3 separate regions of the Homo sapiens genome follow, and all the other regions are linked to region 1. The links are contacts of gene promoters, found by promoter capture Hi-C in blood cells and fetal thymus (Javierre and others, 2016). All regions are on one chromosome and are shown on one strand. Each heading gives the region's core, a stretch centred on a gene start or on the middle of the fragment in contact. The rest is flanking DNA. Distances are from core to core; before and after follow the strand shown.

Region 1 (4,096 bases), core at 1,125-3,624:
CAGCAGTATAGTCATATGACCTGAAAGATTTTAAATGATCTTGCTGACATCTGAATTCTACTACAGATTCCGTGACAAAGTCATGTGGCTGGAACCGGAGTTCCCTGCCAGGGGCTGGCACATTGCACTTCTCACACAATAGAAGGTGAGACGATCTGAGAGCCTTAAAATCAAGCAGATGCAGATTAATGCAATCCTCAACTTCAATCAAGTTCTGAACCAATAAAAATGTGTGATTTCTAGCAGTCAGGAATGAGTGGTTTTTAAGAAATAAGGTAGTTGGGATACGCTTGCCATTATGGATAAAGTGATAATATCAGGGAAAGGACACACGGTAATCTATAGACTATATCATGCAATATTCTTCTCTGTATAAGTGACTTGTTTCCTGTATCAATGACGTTTTCAACTTTGCTGATGAGTTAATGGGACACACATGTAAAAAATGGATTGCTCTATACAAAACAGAGGTAACTTCTGGAGTTCCTTCAGTTATTACTTGTAAATAAGCAGAATTGAACCTCAACCCCATCTGAGGACTAATTAGGAATTACAAAGGTGATTGCTCATAAATGAACTATCGTCATGCTGCTGCGCACTGATTTTTAATAAGAACTGGTTATGGCTTCATATAGAATTACACCTAAAATGTTAATCAGAAAAGCACTGCATTTCCTCCAGTTTCTGTTCGCTAACTTTTAAAGCTGATTATTATTTTTACTATTTTCCTTGCTATGTTAGCCCTTTAATTTTGTTTCAGACTCATGTTCATTAAGCCAGAGCAAGCCTGCTTTATACAAGGAGACCCTGGGCCTTGGAAGAAATAAAAATGCCCAGTGATGACAGTCCAGATAAAGCTGTGTTCATTTTTTACGTTTAGAAGACCATACTTTAAATCATGACTATCACTGAAACAGATAGATTCATTTATTGTTGAGTCCTGCTTTACCCTGAGATGTTCCATGAACACTGAGAATACATTTTCTTTGTTCTAATTCCAGCCTCTGAATCAGAGCCAACTAGAGTGGGCTCTTCATAAATATGCATTGACTGCCTGAGTATTAATGTAGGGCAGGGCTCTGATTAGCAAGTGCTACCTGCAGGAAGCAGAAGAAATACCACAAATGGAGATAGGACGCTATTAGCAGATTTTATTTCATTTTTTCCTGAGGCTTGGAAATAATCACTTCTCTCTCAGGTCAAACCTCTCCAGCTCTCTCCCTTCAGGATGTGAAAAGATCTCAAATAAAAGGCCTCTATGTGAGGATCTCTTTCGCTGGTTGCTGGAGGAAGAGCATGAAATGAGGGAAGAAGCAAATTGCTTCTGATTTATTGTTTCTGGTTTATTCCTTTCCTGCCAGTTCAGCAGCTCGCCAGAAACAGCACAAAACCTTACATCTTAACTTGAAGGTGAAGTATTTGTTTTGACAACTTTTTAGCATAGATCTCGGTATACAAAATAAAAGGTAATGAGGCTATGATAGTCTGAAGGACATCGGCAAATTAAAATTTAACATATTTATGGATTTTATACAAAGACTCCTCTCCCCTTTGCAGATAAAACGACTGCATCCAACTTTATGCAGATTTAACTAAAAGAAAAAAAAAAAGTCTTTTGTGAACCACCTGGGCCAATACTTAGTTGGCTTAATTGCTATTTCAGTGCCTTGTCAGGCTGCAGAGCCTGAACTAGGGAGATGCACCGGGCCCACTTGCAGGCGGGGCCCAGATGCACCCAAGCCCCATGGACAAGAGCACCATGGGCACCAGGGGCCTCCCGACCTGGCAGCCTGTTGCTAGTGGGCGAGGCAGGAGGACAAGTGCGGCTCAGGCCACGAGTCGGGCTGGGCGTGCAGAGAGGTTAGAATTACACCCAGATGGCGAACAGTCAGTCGTTCCTTTCCTGCTCTGGCTGGGAGCTAAACCTTGTAGTCCCAGACCCTTTCGCCTTCGCCTGCCGGCTCAGACCCAACAGCTCTTTCCGGACGACGGGCGGCTCCACTGCGATCAAAAGCCAGGGGTAGCGGGAGGGGATTCGTGAGAATGCAGCAGCCAGAGCAGTCTTTCCTTTCTGAGCAAGATGTGAGAGAGTCCGAGTGGCCTGGAGGAGGAACCGGGTCAACCAACTCCACAGGGCGGAGCGAAAACGCTGGAGGACTAAGGAGGCTAAGAGTTGATCCCCCCTTTGAGTCGTGATACGGTCCGAAGCGGGGCGGGGCGGGGCGAAGGAGGCTCCCCCTGGCTCTCCCCGCCCCTCACCCGCCTTCCTTGCTGAGCGGCCGCGGGAGGGGGAGCGCGAGCCCCGCAGGCCCCTCCCCCGGCGCCGGCGCCCGAGCTCCGCCCCTCGCCGAGCCGCCCCTCCGCGGCTGCAGCAAGAGCTCGCCCAGCTCTGCGGGCGCCGCCACCTTCGCCGCCACCGCTGCCTTTCTCCTCCTCCTGTCGGCGTGCGGGGGCCGCGCCCGGCGGCAGCTCTGCCCTAGGTGGGCGGCGGCGCGGCCCAGGCTGCAGCTGAGCGCTCTGCGCGGCGCAGCCGGGTCTCCCGCGTGTACCACGCCGTGACAGGTGCAGAGTCCGGGCTGAGGACCCACCTGCAGCCGCCGCCGCGATGCCCACCATGCGGAGGACCGTGTCGGAGATCCGCTCGCGCGCCGAAGGTAAGGGGCCGCCGAGGCTCGGGGCTAGCCCGGGGTCGGGAAGCGAGTGTGTGTGTGAGCGTGTGTGTTTATCCTGGAAGAGACCGCATCCTACCTCTTCCCCGGCGGCAGTCCGACTGTCGCGCCCGGCCCCTAGGGGACCCTTCCCCCCGCGCTGCCCCCAGTGTACTCGCAGACCCTTTCCAGGCTCCAGTACCCTCGAATGGGTGTTCTCCGCGGGAGCCCCGAGGCGTGCTTTGCACCGCAGTGTGACCATTAGGTCCCAGTCACTGAGCTCACTCGCCCTGCCCACCTCCCTCCCCACCAGTTCGATTTCCACTCAGCAGATCCCCAGCCCGCCGCCCCTGCCTCCGGCGCCCACCGTTTTGCAACCCCCTATCTGAGCTCCCAGCGAAGCGAGTTTGCTTTTCCCCGGCTGCAGGATCCTTTGATCCGTAGTCCCTTGGCTCTCGAAGCGCGGGGAGCCTTCATCGGGGTCGGGTGCCGAGTGGGTTCCCTGCATTACAGCTTCTGCAATTCTGCCTCCTGCAGCGGAGTCCCACCGGCTCGCGTCTGAGGTTTCGTTTTTGTGTTTCCCTTTTGCCCGAAACCCTCACTTCGGCCAGCTGAGCTGACTTTTCAGCCAGGTGGAAGCTGTTTTCTTTGCTCCACCTGGGGCCAGCTCTTGAATGGCCATGGTTGTCAACACTGAGCAACAGATGCTCCGGGGTAGAAGCAAGTAAGCTTTCCGAGGGCCCAGACTCTTCATCGTCTCCGAGGAGCCCTCAACATCCTGCCTGCCATGTGGCAGGCACTCTGTAAATATTATTTGATTTTGCTCGCGTCAAAGCCAAGACTGTAAATATCCCAAGGTTTGTTTGTCCTCTCCCATAAACCTGTACTTGAATCCTGCAGAGGGTGGAATAACATGTTTTTCAGAAATCTATCTTGCCATCATCGCTGATTCCCACTCTTCCTCCCCACCTCCATCTTTTAATGTGAGACAGGTGGTGAAGTGGTTTTAGAAAAATATATAAGTTAGGAGAATTGGATTTCAGGGATGGAGACAGGCCATTTTTTCTCCTTAGGGGCTCCCTGTAAAAATAGGGTCCCTGAAATTTTCTGATTGCAGTATTTAGGAAATATTAAATGAAACTGCTGTGGGGAGAAGACGAAGCAAGATTCAAAACTGGCCTGTGTACTACATAGGAATTCGGTACATGCTGTCATTTGTAATACCCAAAAAATACTTATATAGGGCATTATAGTTTTACATACACAGTTGAATACATTATACTTTTAAAATGCACACTGTAAAAATTCATTTTTTTTACACTTCTGAGTGAAATTAGTCATAGAGATAGTGAAAGTAGAATGGTAATAGTTGGTGGTGTTCTTTTAAATAATAGCAATTGATGGGTCCTATATTGTGGGAAATAAGGGGAAGAGAAAAAGTCTGAGAG
Region 2 (4,096 bases), core at 617-3,116, 5.0 Mb after region 1:
ACGGCCGCTCGCCTCGGAACCCCGCGGACCCGTTTCCCGCCGCCCTTGTCCTCAAAGGCGCCGCGAGCGGAAGATCGTGACACAGAGCACCGGGTGCGCTGTCGGCGCCTCCTTCTCCCTTTTAAATACCTTAAAATATCCTAAAACCTGGAGGACTTTGAATCTCTTTCCACGTTTCCATTTATTTGGGTGGTTGATGGATTCTTGTAACAGGTCAAGGAGTCCACATTTCTTCCCATATATCCTGTATAAATCAGGCTCGGAAAAAGGGAAGGCGCGTTGGTAAACTTACATTTTTTTCTTCTTTTTGTTGATTCCTGTCGTCACGAAAGGAACCTTGTGTGGTCAGGGCAGGAAGCCACCAACAGAGATGCTAAAGTGTCACCAACGATGAAGCAGTTTTTAATTGAAATCAATCTTAAGAGGAGGTGTAAGTTTTATGGAAGTCCTATGTCACATCCTTGCTTTTATAATTACAGACACTAGGGATTCCTTACCACCGCTTCCCCTCTTAATTGCCACCTAACAGCTGCAGTTAAAAAAAAAACATACTTACTTGGCCATTTGGGGTTACTACAGCTGGGAATCTGACGTCAGCAAGCTCTTCCAAGCTTGATTTCAGCGGTGGTTCCTCCTCAGGCCCAAATAATAAGCAACTGGAAGCCTTTCAACAGTGACTGTCTCCTCCATAAACATCCATAAACTCTTCCTCCTGAGAACATTTCAGTCGCTTACAACTTTTACACTGACTTAGCAGTTTGGCCTTCACTTTTTCATAGAAACCAGAGCAGGTTGGAAGGGAAGGAGATGGATAATATTGTCTCCTGAGTCTTTTTAGCAGGCCCGTATTTCCGTTAGCCATCCACCTGGGGAAATGGCAGCTAGTGACATGTTTTACTGGATGGGACAATTTTTTTTTTCTTTTCCTTATTTTGATACAGGGGCTCATTTTGTCACCCAGACTGGAGTGCAGTGGCACAACCTCGGCTCACTGCAACCTCCAGCTCTCTGGTTCAAGTGATTCTCCTGCCTCAGCCTTCTGAGCAGCTGGGATTACAGGCATGTGCCACCATGCCCGGCTAATTTTTGTATTTTTAGTAGAGATGGGGTTTTGCCATATTGGCCAGGCTGGTCTCGAACTCCCGACCTCAAGTGATCCTCCTGCCTCGGCCTCCCAAAGTGCTGGTATTACAGGCATGAGCCACCATGCCCTGCTGGTTCATTTTGATTTTCATCCTGCGTTTGATTGCTGGGACACATAGGTGCATAATCAGGTTCCACTTGGATGTGAGGTTGGAGACATTCATTAGAGGGTTAGAGTCAGTTGCAACAGAATCTGGGGAAGAGTTTAATCTGGGAGTAAAATTATTAAAAATTCAGCACATGATGCATGTAATTAGCCATCATCAGCAGGAGAAATCCATCCCTAGAGTGGGTGTGTGTTTGGTTTGACCTCTGAGCAACACCCAGGTCTCAGGACTAGAATGTGACTGATGAAAGCTCTCATCTAATTGCATGACAGCCTTTTTTTTTTTTTGATGAAAATTAATGCGGAAGAAGAAACAGGTGTCTAAAAAGGAAAGGATACAGAGCACAAATTTGCCAGTATCTTGAGGCGTGTGTAAAGAGAAGATGCTCTGACCAGCCAACATCTGATCCCCTTGCAACCAAAGATGGTGTTAATGTTTGTACCTTGAGCATAGGGAAGTAGAGGGAAAGGAATGGGAAATACTGTTGAGTGCCTGCTGTGTGCCAGGCTTTGGGTTGAGTACTTTGTATGCATTTTTATTTTTATTTATTTTTTTCTTTTTGAGACGGAGTCTTGCTCTGTCGCCCAGGCTGGAGTGCAGTGGCGCGATCTCACTGCAAGCTCCGCCTCCCGGGTTCACGCCATTCTCCTGCCTCAGCCTCCAGAGTAGCTGGGACTACAGGCGCCCGCCACCATGCCTGGCTAATTTTTTATATTTTTAGTAGAGACGGGGTTTCACCGTGTTAGCCAGGATGGTCTCCATCTCCTGACCTCGTGATCCGCCCACCTTGGCCTCCCAAAGTGCTGGGATTACAGGCGTGAGCCACCGCGCCCGGCCGCATTTTTATTTGTTTATTTATTTTTATTTTTATTGTTTTTTGAGACAGAGTCTTGCTCTGACTCCCAGGCTGAGGTGCAGTGGTGCGATCTCAGCTCACTACAACCTCCACCTCCCAGGCTCAAGCAATTCTCCTGCCTCAGCCTCCCTAGTAGCTGGGATTATAGGCGCCCGCCACCATGCCTGGCAAATTTTTGTATTTTTTAGTAGAATCGGGGCTTCCCCATGTTGGCTATGCTGGTTTGTAACTCCTGACCTCAAGTGATCCGCCCTTCTCGACCTCCCAAAGTGCAGGGATTACAGGTGTGAGCCACCGCGCCCAGCCTTCATAGGCATTTTTAAACTCATTGCTCATAACCCTGTGAAATACTTACTTCCAGTAAGGCAACTGAGGCAAGAGAGGTTAAACAACTGGCTGAACATCACATAGGTACTGTGCCAGTCAGCATTCAGAGAAGCAGAACCACTAGGAGGTGTCTGTGTATGTGTGTACCTTTATATGTATCTTTATCTGGGATAACCCAGCCTGCTTGATTCCAAAGTTCATTCCCTTTCCACTGTACCCCACTGCTCTGCAGAGGAAAAATAGAATATGAGTCAACCTCTGCAATCTCGCTGAGATTCTAAGATAGTTTAGAACGTCATAAAATTGTAAGCATGTGGTTATCAGAAGTTGTCAAGTAGAGAAAAGAAGGGCAGATAGCTTCACGGTGGGTAGTGGCAATGCCTTTTTCACTTCCTTCCTAGTAGAAGAATCTCATTAAACTTGTCTCTTAGCAGCAGCATTCGAAACTATATACCACAAGCACCCAAAGGGATGATTTTCCACGTCTTGGCTTATTAATGTCCTTAAGTTCTCTGGTTACTCAACCTTCAGGTTTATTAGTTTCTCTCTCAGACAGTGGGCATAGCCCTCGAGTAAGGAGTGGGTGGAAGAGGTCCTGGGGCTGGTGAGATGAAAAATGCATTGTCCTTGGGCTGCAGGCTTCCCTCCAGCATTCTGACTCCTTTTTAGAAACTAAAGATAAGCTTTATTAAATTCTGGGGTCTCTCTTAGCCAGGTAGCTGCGAAGCTGTACATCCACATAATATATAGTGTTTGGAAAGTTTTGAAAAAGCACACCTTGGAGCTTGGGAGTCCATATCTACATTTAATTTTAAAAGGAAATGAAAAATGTGAGAAGTCTCTGTCAATTCCCTGCCCCTACCCCCTCTAAAAATGGAAATGAAATGAATCTATTTGGAAATTTGAAGAGTTGAATTTGAATGTGAGAGACCAAAGCCCCAAGTGAACAAACAACAGATTTTATTGTTTCTTTAAAAATGATTCTTTGGCCCTAATGTTGAAGTTTAATGACTTATTGAAACAATAGAGAAATGATTTAAAGCTGACAAAAAGAATAAATTAAATTGTCATTGGTATAAACTATTAGGTTGAGTGGTTCCTAATAATTTCGGACACTTAAGTGGTTGTAAAGATTTGGTGTGCTGCTGAAAGCGGGTATATTAATAATTCTGGTGTGATTTATAAAAACTAAAATCAGAATTTGGTGTTAGTACACTGTAGACACTTTACTCTTTTAGGAAAAAGGAATTCAATTTTTATTATTACCTGGTTTGTGTGCAGGCGGTAGTCTAAATACCTAGATCATTTCATTCTTACAATTAATTTCCTGTCAGTTATATACATAATTTTATTCCTGTGTTTGTAGATGAGGAAATTGAGCCTCAGAGAAGTTGAAAAAGTCACTCATGTGTAAGCTGGATTTTGTCATGGAGTCCATTGAGTCAGATCTGTTTGATTTTGAAGTCCATGCTTATTATTACTAAACTATTTTTTTGAGTAAGAAAATTCTTTTTATTCTAACATATTTGTAAAGAATCAGTAAGTAACAAGGTCATGGGATGCTATGGTGGAAAGAGCACCAAGCCTTAAGTCAGGGCCTTGGACTTGAAGTCAAAAATCAGAAGGAAGCCGGGTGCAGTGGCTCACGCCTGTAATCGCAGCA
Region 3 (4,096 bases), core at 634-3,133, 4.8 Mb before region 1:
ATAGTACAAATAAGATTTGGGAGATGGAGACCAGAATATACCTCATAGAGATGGAACTACAAGAGACAGACATATGTTTTGAAAACCTCTTGGATTACACACATAAGAACATCCTCTTACTAATCAAAGGGCAAATATTAAGCGCTGTCTCTCTTGCAAGTTGTTAACTATTTTGGAAACCATATTTGTTGCAGGCTAAATTTTGTCCCATCCAAATTCAAGAGTAAAGATCAAATTCTTCTTAGTACTCAGTGTTGCTTGAAAGATGAGTTAGGACCTAATTCTCTGTCCTCTGACTAAACCTTGGGCCCTGTTAGGTGTGTCATTTTACCTTATTTAGTCATGTTACGTGGCCTTAGGTAAGCCATATCATTTCAGTTCCTCAGCAGGGGTAGTCAAGCATGCAAACTGAGATCACCGTTTCTGGCCTCAGACCAGTGATTTTGTAACTACTATCTATGTGACCTTACAAAATATATTACTTCAAGTTCATTTCCTCATCTGTAATACCCACTGTACAAGGCTGTAGCAGGAATTAGTAAGATAAAAATATATGAAGGGTTTGACATATAGTAGATGCTTGAAAGTACTTTTCTCCCAATTATTATAATACATAAAATTTAAGTTTTTTTCTCAAAATAGACCTTACCCATCATTAGATTTACAGAAAGACTCAGGTGAAGTAGTTTTCCAGACTTCTCATTTTAACTATTACTAGGGGAGCTCCTATTCACAAAGTATCTTAAGACAATTACATTTAAGATAGGGCAATGAGTGTTGTGCATCTATCTGCATTAAGAACTAGAAAGTGGTAAATAAGTGAGGGACAGCTAAAATATCATGAAAACTCACGGGAGAAAGAAATTGACTTCACCTTTTAGAGTTGAGGCACACAGAGAAAGGACGTAGGAGGTAAACCTAGAATGCTGCTAATGAGTAGTTTTTCTCTGCGTAGCCCATAGATTGAATACTTTCTCTTCTGCTTCACCATTTTGCACCACTTTTATTATTAAATTTATAAATTAGATTGTAATTCCTGTTTCTGGTCTACTAGTTATTATTATCCGCTTTTGCAGGACATGCTCATTTTACCACCACTGAATTCTTCAGCACCTGATTAAAGTAACAGCTGTAATAAGAAATAACAGAAAGGATATTTGGACTTTGAGCTTAGTCCAACATTAATAGCATGGCTCTTGAGTCTGATTGATTTTGTTTAACTTCAGACTGGGCCTCTTACTTAGGTCAGTGATTTTTAGCGTTGCCAGATAAAATACAGGACACCAGTTAAATTTGAATTTCAGATGGACAAATAATTTTCAGTATAAATATATCCCATACAATATTTAGGGGATACTTACAACAAAATATTATTGTTTATCTGAAATTTCACATTTAACTGGACGCTTGGTATTTTCATTTGCTAAATCTGACAACCTTAGTGACTTCTCTAATCATGTTTGCTTTCTGCAAATAGGGCTGAAAATAGTACCTTCTCCCTAGGATGATCTATATACAGAACGTTGCTCATGGCAAAACCTTAATTTACCTTGCAAATCAGGATACTTTAGTAGAGACTTCTGTTAAAACTCTGGGACAATGACCATGCCCAGGCACCCAAAAAGATGGTTACCTTTATTCGACGGTTTTCTAAAGAGCACAGAGAAAGTTCAATAGAACCCTAAACAAAGGTACAAACTGCGTTGAAAGATACGTAAATGTGCCTTTAATAGCACAAGGGTATCTTAGCCACATCACTGCAAACTGCAGTCTCCCTGGTTACGGGGAAAGCGGTAGTTCGGTCTCTGCGCAAGCGCACAGGGACTTCTTGGGTCCACGCCCCTCCCCGCCGGCGAGAGTCACGTGGGCGAGTCGTAGCTTTAGACAAGCGGCCAGCCTTGACACGTGACCCAAGCCCCAGCTTCGCGCAGGGATGGAGCCGGAAGAGGGGACGCCCTTGTGGCGGCTGCAGAAGCTGCCGGCCGAGCTGGGCCCGCAGGTGAGGGCGGGTACCGGGGGAAGCGGCGCGGGGCCTGGGATTCGCGACAGCCCGGCGTGCGGATCAGGCCGGGTGCGACCCGGACGCCTTCGCAAGCTCCCTAGGGAAGGGAGGAGGAAGGGGCGTGATTTCGGGTGGTTGGTCCCCGCCTTCCCTGGGGAGCCTAGGAGGACAGCTTGGGGCGCCACCCCCAGCCTAGAGGTGCAGCTCCAGGGGCTTTGCGCGCAGAAGCGCCCACACCAGACTGGGCTTTGAAAGCTTAAGTCGGTGTTTGCTGCCTCTTAGTATACGTTTTCTTAATTCATTCAACACATAACCTCCCAAAGGCTCCCTACCTACCGGACAGCAGGTACAGAGCTAGGTGCTGGAATACAATGTGACAAAGACCGAAGCGGACCCTGCCTCCCCCCTTGAGGGTGGTTGGTAGGAAGAGAAATAACTGGGCGAGTTACTTTAGTTAGGATCGTCCCAAGAGGTGATGTACCCATTGACTTCCAGTCTGTAAAAGAACCTGGCTTGTAAGAATCTGGAAAAAGCAACCACATTCATTTGTTCAGCCAGTTTTTCATTGAAGTCTACCATAGATTGAGCGCCCCGATGGGATGAGGTAAATGGTGAGTGAGACACAGCCTGTGCCCTGGTGGAGCATCTTTTTTATAAGTCTCAATTTTGGCTTCCTGTTTCCTCTATTCCATTTATACTGGAGAAAGTGTGGAGGAGACAGAAAGGAATGAACTTACCTCCTGCCAGGGTCAAGAAAAAAAAACACCTAATTCTTTTCTTTGTTTTTGCAAGTGAGGAACCTGAAATGTCAGCAGAAATTTTGGCTAACTTGCCCAGGATTGCCCATCCAGTTAGTGGCAGAGCTGGAACTTATGCTCAGATCTGTTGATTCTGAGTGTTTTATTGGCTTTTGGCTCTCCTTGTCTTCACTCTACCCATTTAGATAAGGCCCATAACCTTTATTACCATATATGTCGATGACTTCTAAATCTTTAGGTCCAGCCAAAAATTTCTTCCTCTATGGTTCAAGAATGCCAGGTAAAAAACAAAACAAAACCCCAAAAACCCCAAACCAAAATCTCTTCCCTGAGTGTCAGGCTTCTGCCACAGGTACCTCAAATTCAGTATGCCCTTGCCTCAGCTCTTCTTTCCCCCTGGACCTACTCCTCCCGTAGCCTCATTTTCGGTTTGTGGCACCACCACTTTCACCCAGCCCCTCTCAACCTGACGTTCTAGGTTTCATCCATGGCCCCCCCTTTTCACATCTCTTCTACCTCTTTACTGCCTCCATTTTGAGTGTCCTCAACAATTTAAGCCCCTTAATCTTTAACTCCTTAACTGAAAATTGAGGCATCTGGGCTCACCCTCTCTCTTACATCTTCCAACCTGTTAGCAAATATATGGAAAAATAATGCAAATGTGTGAATAGGTTGCTTCCCGGTTGAGCACAGATTGAAGTCTAGGCTCTTTTACTTTGTACACAAGGCCCTTTTTGATTTGGCTCCACCCACCTCTCCAGCCTTGTCTCCTGTCACCCCCTAGGCACCCCCCAAAATAACTTGCTTGTGTCTAGAAATGCACTTCTTCTCTCCTGTTTTGCTTGGCCAACTACTCATCCTTTTAAGATGGACTTTTCCTTGCTTCCTCTCTGTGCTCCTTCGTACCTTGTATATATTTTTATTATGGCCCCATCATTCTAAATTACATGTATTTGTATGTTTGCCTTTTTCGAATGGACTAAAGCTCTGTTATGGTAGGGCCTTATTTATTCTCAGTTTCCTCATTTGTAAAATAGAAATAATAACAATGGTTACTTCAGAGTTGTAGTGAGGATCAGTCCAGAGTGTGGTACCTAGTTAGGGATCCATAACGGTAGCTATTATAGTTTCTTTGCCATTAAATAAAGTCATTTCCATGACCTTTGTCATTAAATAAGGTCATTTCCATGACTTTATTTAATAACTGGGATGAAGTGTTCATTACATATTTGTGAATGAATAACAAACATATTCCAAAAAAGATAATGCTTTTATTTTTCAGTTTGAGTTCTGGGTTTTTTTTTTAGCATGGGGACAGTATAGGATAAGGTGTAGA

What was found. Contacts are between HindIII fragments. The CHiCAGO score rates a contact against its expected background, and 5 or more counts as called.
Region 2: a fragment that was not itself captured here is called in contact with the fragment with the promoter of ATP8A1 in region 1 in 1 of 17 cell types (fetal thymus); the score reaches 6.2 in fetal thymus.
Region 3: the fragment with the promoter of COMMD8 here is called in contact with the fragment with the promoter of ATP8A1 in region 1 in 2 of 17 cell types (naive CD4 T cells and non-activated CD4 T cells); the score reaches 6.1 in naive CD4 T cells.

Annotation. Positions count from the first base shown.
Region 1 is chr4:42,655,383-42,659,478 of GRCh38, reverse strand. ATP8A1 (ATPase phospholipid transporting 8A1) reads left to right here and starts at 2,374. Exons shown (of 37, transcript NM_006095.2): 1 at 2,374-2,654. The coding sequence starts at 2,606. It overlaps ATP8A1-DT (ATP8A1 divergent transcript), which reads right to left and starts at 1,956. Exons shown (of 1, transcript NR_186688.1): 1 at 1,132-1,956. RefSeq lists enhancers at 1,938-2,147, 3,138-3,187 and a silencer at 2,178-2,647. The HindIII fragment of the contact is 6,451 bases long and covers 1-3,379 here.
Region 2 is chr4:37,681,791-37,685,886 of GRCh38, reverse strand. All of the region lies in intron 1 of RELL1 (RELT like 1), which reads left to right. Among named protein-coding and RNA genes, the nearest start is that of RELL1, 2.5 kb to the left of the region's middle. RefSeq lists an enhancer at 3,064-3,113. The HindIII fragment of the contact is 2,505 bases long and covers 614-3,118 here.
Region 3 is chr4:47,461,489-47,465,584 of GRCh38, reverse strand. It overlaps COMMD8 (COMM domain containing 8), which reads left to right and starts at 1,883. Exons shown (of 5, transcript NM_017845.5): 1 at 1,883-1,999. The coding sequence starts at 1,934. LOC107986277 (a long non-coding RNA gene) reads right to left here and starts at 1,702. Exons shown (of 3, transcript XR_001741683.3): 1 at 1,634-1,702. RefSeq lists an enhancer at 195-244 and a silencer at 1,893-2,152. The HindIII fragment of the contact is 2,743 bases long and covers 1-2,259 here.